Linked DNA regions of Homo sapiens: region 2 is linked to region 1. Evidence: promoter capture Hi-C in human tissues and cell types (Jung and others, 2019). All regions are on one chromosome and are shown on one strand. Each heading gives the region's core, a stretch centred on a gene start or on the middle of the fragment in contact. The rest is flanking DNA. Distances are from core to core; before and after follow the strand shown. Region 1 holds the start of GLT8D1 (glycosyltransferase 8 domain containing 1). Region 2 overlaps PBRM1 (polybromo 1).

Region 1 (3,032 bases), core at 470-2,969:
GTAAAATGGCATATTACAGTCAGCCCTCTGTATCTGTAATTTCAGTCCGTGGTTGGTTGAATCCAAGGATACAAAACTGTGGATACAAAAAAAAAAGACCGCACTGGCCGGGCGCGGTGGCTCATGCCTGTAATCCCAGCACTTTGGAAGGCCGAGGTGGGTGGATCACTTGAGGTCAGGCGTTTGAGACTAGTCTGGCCAACACAGTGAAACCCCGTCTCCACTAAAATCACAAAAATTAGCCGGGCGTGGTGGCGCATGCCTGTAATCCCAGCTACTCAGAAGGCTGAGGCAGGACAATCCCTTGAACCCAGGAGGCGGAGGTTGCAGTGAGCCGCGATCGCACCACTGCACTCCAGCCTGGGCAACAGAGCGAGTCTTCGCCTCAAAAAAAAAAAAAAAAAAAAAAAAAGACCACACAGAGATATATCTATTTATACACACAACAGAAAGTCTCTTCAAACACACCAAGAAATACAGAGCATGAGAAGGAAACAGGAATAAACTCTTGCCCATCCCTCTTTCTGCCTTCTACACGTCCTGAGTCCTTCTGAGGTCAGAAAAGTGTCAAACGTGTCTGCATTTTACTGTTTGGTCTCTGCCACGTGCAAGGATGAAAGGGCACTGAGGATATACAAACACTTTCTCCTACCCTTTCATCTGGCTGGCTCCCACTTGGCATTCAAAGGTCAAGGTAGCCTCCTCCAAACTCCACGTTGAGCTGCACCTCCCCTGAGCTCCCACATCTGGGCCTCCCTCTCCCAGGGCTAATCCAGCTGTCATGTATTTCTGGCGTGATGTGGCTGTCTCCCTTGACACGCTCTGGGCTCTTCCAAGGCAACAGCCTGGTCTTGGTAACAACCGTGTCCTCGGTCTGCTGTCTGGCACAAACAAGGTGCCGTGAATATTTGCTGGTTGCATGAATGAGGACAGCAGTCCCACCCTGTCCCGGGAGTGCCTAGAATTCCACTGTTTGTGGCCAACCCAGAATACATAACCTGGGGGCCGGAGAGCCAGCTGGGACCCAGAGGCCCGGGTTCCTCAGAACGGTTTCTCTCCAAAACGTGGGCATCCCACCTGGCTGACGGTAACGGAGGAGGGTCTAAGATTTAGAGATACACCAGCCTTGAAAGAGAGGCTGAGTGAACCTTTGGCTGGCCTCTATCGGGAGGGCCCAGCCTGGGTCTGTGAGGGTCAGTAAAGCCGGCCACAATGTGAGAGGGCTGAGTTCGGGAGCCCCCAGATGAGGGACTTTCTACGCGGATGAGAGGGACAGCCGAGCACCAGGGTCCCCTCTCCAAGGGAATTCTCTCTGTTGTGGATGCCGCCTAGGGTAGCCCCCCTAAATTCCAAGGGTCAGTAGGGCCCCCCTTACACTTTGAAGTGATCGGAAAGTGATGTGACGCTCCGGGGATCCCACCAGGCTCAGAGATACCCCTGGTTAGGGCTCCGACAAGTCGTTCCCCTCAAAGGCTCGCCGCGGCCGCCCTTACTGCAGGCGATGGAGGAGATGCGGATGCAGCCCGCGCCCCGACCCGCCCTGCCAGCTCAGCGCCCGCGCCGCAGGCCCCGGAGCCCAGCCCGTTGTCTGGCCGCCCGCGTTCCCTGCACGCTGGGCCGAGCACACTTGCCCTCTAGCTCCGTGGCAGCCGCGCAGCCCCACTACGCCCAGCCAGCCCGCAGCGGTAACCGCTAGAGCGTCGCGCCAAGCAGGCGCCGCGGGGCAGCCCTGCCGCCGGGGTCCTCGCAGGGAAAAAGGCCGTCGCCATGGAGACGCGGGGGCGCCGGCGGCCGTTGGGCCGCGCAAGTACTGTCAAGGACAGTTTTCGGGACGGGGGACGCGGCTCCAGGCACCCAACAGCACTGACGGCGAACACTTCACGGGCGCGCGATGCCTCGACAAGGCGGCCGCCACCACCACCTCAGCTGCCCTCGCGGGCAGCACGGCGCGGCAAAAGCGCACGTCGCCTAGCGATGGCGCGGGGCGGGGACACGGGCTGTACCGGCCCGTCGGAGACTTCCGCTTCCGGGGCCGCCGCCATCGCTCTCCCGGGCTTAGAAGGCCCGGCTACTGACGCGCAGTGCCAGACCTTACCCCTCACGGTCCTTAAGTCTCGGTCGCCCTCGCCTCGCAGCCTGCCACCCGCGCTCAGCTGCCCGCCTCCTCAGCCAGCCATGCTGGAGCATCTGAGCTCGCTGCCCACGCAGATGGTGAGGGCGCAACCCGGGGACCTCTGCACGCCGTTCTTGTGCCTGGCAGCTTCGAAGCCCATGTTGGAGCACCGACCCGGTGCTGCGCTGTTCCGGGCCCGGATGGTTACCGTCCACCCTCTTTCCCGAATTGCCTCCTGGGTCCCCTTCTCTTCTACTCCGCGAGAATCTCCTGTCCATTCTCCGTGAGGGTGTTTCAGTTCCTCCCGGGAAGCCCAGAATTTAATATCTTGCCCAGGCCCTTAGGAGAGCGGGAGACCCTGATGTTGGGGTTACCCTGTGCCAGAGTTGTGAGGTCAGGGCAGGAATTGTATGTTCTCGGCGGTGGAACCAATTCTTTTTTTCCTCTGCTTCACCCCAGGATTACAAGGGCCAGAAGCTAGCTGAACAGATGTTTCAGGGAATTATTCTTTTTTCTGCAGTAAGTATTGGTTTTACATTTAATCTCCGCCCCCGCCTCCCTCCCAACCCTCAGTTTGAGTGTGTTTAATATACTTCATTTGTCTCTAGATAGTTGGATTTATCTACGGGTACGTGGCTGAACAGTTCGGGTGGACTGTCTATATAGTTATGGCCGGATTTGCTTTTTCATGTTTGGTAAGAAATTTGTGGGTATTAGTGGCAGCTTGGGTTTTGTGAGTCGGGTTGGTTTGGTTAGACCTACTCAGTAGTGAGACCCAAAGCCAACGTTTCCCTCATCCTTCCAAACAGCGTTTCCCTTTGCTATCATTGGAAAAGTAGAATGCCAAAATAGTGTCAGATGGTGCGAACTATATAAAAGGACACAGCTTATTTCCTTTGGCGGCTACTCTGGCTAATAA
Region 2 (2,952 bases), core at 399-2,898, 150 kb before region 1:
CAGCCTCCTGAGTAGCTGGGACTACAGGCACATGCCACCACACCTGGCTAATTTTTCCTTTTTTTTTTTTTTTTTTGACACGGAGTCTTGCTGTCGCCCAGGCTGGAGTGTAGTGGTGCAATCTCGGCTCACTGCAACCTCTGCCTCCCAGGTTCAAGTGATTCTTCTGCCTCAGCCTCTCGAGTAGCTGGGACTACAGGTGCCCGCCACCACGCCCAGCTAATTTTTGTATTTTTAGTAAAGACGGTGTTTCACCATATTGGCCAGGCTGGTCTCGAACTCCTGACCTCAAGTGATCCGCCCACCTCGGCCTCCCAAAGTGCTGGGATTACAGGCATGAGCCATCGTGCCCGGCCTAACACCTGGCTAATTTTTATAGAGATGGGGTCTCACCAGGTTGCCCAGGCTGGTCTTGAACTCCTGGGCTCAAGTGATCCACCTTCCTCATTCTCTGAAAGTGCTGGGATTACAGGCATGAGCCATTACACCTGGCATGTCATGCTTCTTAGGGAACTCACATACAGAACACTAATTCAGTGAAAATGCATTCCCTCCCTGCTTTTTGTTCTAAGACAGACTGAGTGAAAGATTTCTGAAGAGTTCTACCTTAGCAGCTCTGCAATCCCCTTAGAAAGGCTGCTTGAGGAGAAGTAGGAGATGGAACAGATACTCTATACCCTGTGAGATAAGAATTGCACCAGAGGGAGAAATGCAACTCAGGGGCAAAAAATGCTTTTACATGTTACTCTGAACTAGCAATTTGGGAAACTTCATTCACTGATAAGAGGACACAGCCTTCTAGGCTGTCTGGCTTTTCAAGGACATGTCAAATTAGTTGAGTGATTATCGATAGAGTATGCCTCTTGTCCCTTGGTTTGCTGAGTCTGGCCTCTGCCATGTGTGCTGTGCTGCTGCCAGCAGCCAGGTGCACAAGGGCACAAGTGCTGGGCCACCTGCTGAATGCACAAGACATGCCCTGCTGCTGACAACCTTTGGATTCTCAGGGAGGGAAGGCCTGGCCACAATGGGCCACGGGTGCCTCCTGGAACAACTGGTTGAAAGCGGAAAAAGAGAATATGAAGATGAGATTAATGAGTGAATGAGGATGAAGTTCTTACCCGGTGGTGGGATGCCCGGGAGGCCAGGCACACCTGGCGGAAGATGGTGGGGTGGAGGCCCCCCAGGGTGAAGTGGCTGCATGCTGCCCATGCTAACAAGGCCATCAACTGGGCCCTGCAAAGGTGGAAGGCCTGGCGGATAGCCACCCATCATGCCTTGAAGGACACAACAAATTTCAGACATGCATCATTAACATGCAACATGAGCTAAGTAATAACAACCAACCCCCACATGCACTACCAATGAATAAAGCACCCTTAGTACTGCATGATATAACAGCAATTAGTGCAATTATTTTGCTGCAATAATGAACAAAATAAAAAGTTACAAATATGAGACCCAACATTTTGGGATGAATTAGTACTTAGTACACTATTATTTGTAGTTATTTTCCCTGGGGTAAATATGCTGCATGTTTTCAGTTAAATAATAGTAAAGAGTTCTAGTAACAGCCTTCCCAAGGAAATAATTATTGCAAGCTGTTCAAACAGAGTGACCAGTTCTGCTGACTGCAATTCTAACTGAATAGTATAAACCCCATCATTCCACTCTGCCCACACTCATATGCCTATCATGGGTACACATGAGGGGAAATAGGAAGGGAGGGAAATGAGCGCATAGTCCTGATCACAAAGCATGGTTCTCCAGCTTTGGGGCAGGAATTGTTCAAGACTTCTACATCTACTCCTCCTTTCTAGCCTTACCACTGCTGGTAAGAATGGATTGTGCTTGGGCTTGAGTTGGGGAACAGCTTCTAAGAACCATCACAGTGAATGATATTTCCTTCTTTAGATCTAAAAATGTGATAAAGATAAAACCTAAACACTCCCAACCAAGCCAACCAAGTCCAGGTCACTCAGGAGCCTACACACAGACTTTACGGAGGAATGGCTGGAGAATTGGGCTCTGCTGATATGAGAAAATGCCAAATGCCATCAGTCTCCAAGCTCAAATGTCCTCATATAAACCTTAACAGGGAGCATTTTAATTTGAGGTACACAATTTCTGTGAACAGAGGCTTTTATTCCTTTATTTTCAAAGTGTACCTACACATGACAAAATATTTTCTACTGGCTAGAGAAGAGTTTCAGCAAACAAGTATTTTTGGCAGAAGGAATAAATGTAAGAAAAAAAATTCAAAATGTCAAGGACTCACCTATCAAAAGACCTTTAAAACCACATGGCATTTTTTTAAAACAAGAAAAACAACTTGACTTTTCTGGGATTTGTAATGATCATGATGAATAAGAACACAAAGCTCCCCCCAAAATGCAGTCACCTTTGGTCACAGCTTCTTGCAAAGGGAGGGTTGAGGGACTGGTGCCAAACCTCATTTTTATAAAATACTCTTTGCAGAGGGACTCTGTCAAATAGTGGAAAACTTCAGATTCTGAGAATTTTACTCTTGGACTTTCCCTGAAGATTTCAAACATATTTATTTATAAAAGTTTAGTCTTTTAAGGCTATGAAATTACTAAAAATTCTGAGGTCGATTCACCCTGCTTCACTAGTCATACCTAAGCTGACTAACTTACAATTACATAAACCGAATGACAAAAATTTGAATAATAATCTCTCTATACATAAGATTATGAGTTTTCATTTTTTTTTAAATGAAGAGTTCAGAAAGTAAAAACTACTTTTGAACAGACACCATCATCTTAATTAAACATGAAGAGATCCAATGCTACCAATCTTTTAACCACACCACCAGTTATAGCATTTAGGGTTAAGTAGGCGGGAAATTTAAGGATGTTAAGAGGCTTTGCTTTCAATTACAAAAGCCCATCTGAACGCAGCCTTCATGGGCTGTGGTTGAGGAAATTATTAAGA

Evidence for each region. The method cuts DNA at HindIII sites, captures the fragments that hold promoters and counts their contacts. A contact is called where the count stands out against the background at its distance.
Region 2: a contact is called between a fragment that was not itself captured here and the fragment with the promoter of GLT8D1 in region 1, in 1 of the 25 tissues and cell types used here (mesendoderm cells).

Annotation. Positions count from the first base shown.
Region 1 is chr3:52,704,072-52,707,103 of GRCh38, forward strand. It overlaps GLT8D1 (glycosyltransferase 8 domain containing 1), which reads right to left and starts at 1,720. Exons shown (of 10, transcript NM_018446.4): 1 at 1,376-1,720. SPCS1 (signal peptidase complex subunit 1) reads left to right here and starts at 2,035. Exons shown (of 4, transcript NM_014041.5): 1 at 2,035-2,211; 2 at 2,573-2,632; 3 at 2,722-2,808. The coding sequence starts at 2,176. RefSeq lists a silencer at 1,447-1,616. The HindIII fragment of the contact is 20,736 bases long and covers 1-3,032 here.
Region 2 is chr3:52,553,606-52,556,557 of GRCh38, forward strand. It overlaps PBRM1 (polybromo 1), which reads right to left. Exons shown (of 32, transcript NM_001405607.1): 29 at 1,119-1,274. Among named protein-coding and RNA genes, the nearest start is that of UQCC5, 18 kb to the left of the region's middle. The HindIII fragment of the contact is 6,956 bases long and covers 1-2,952 here.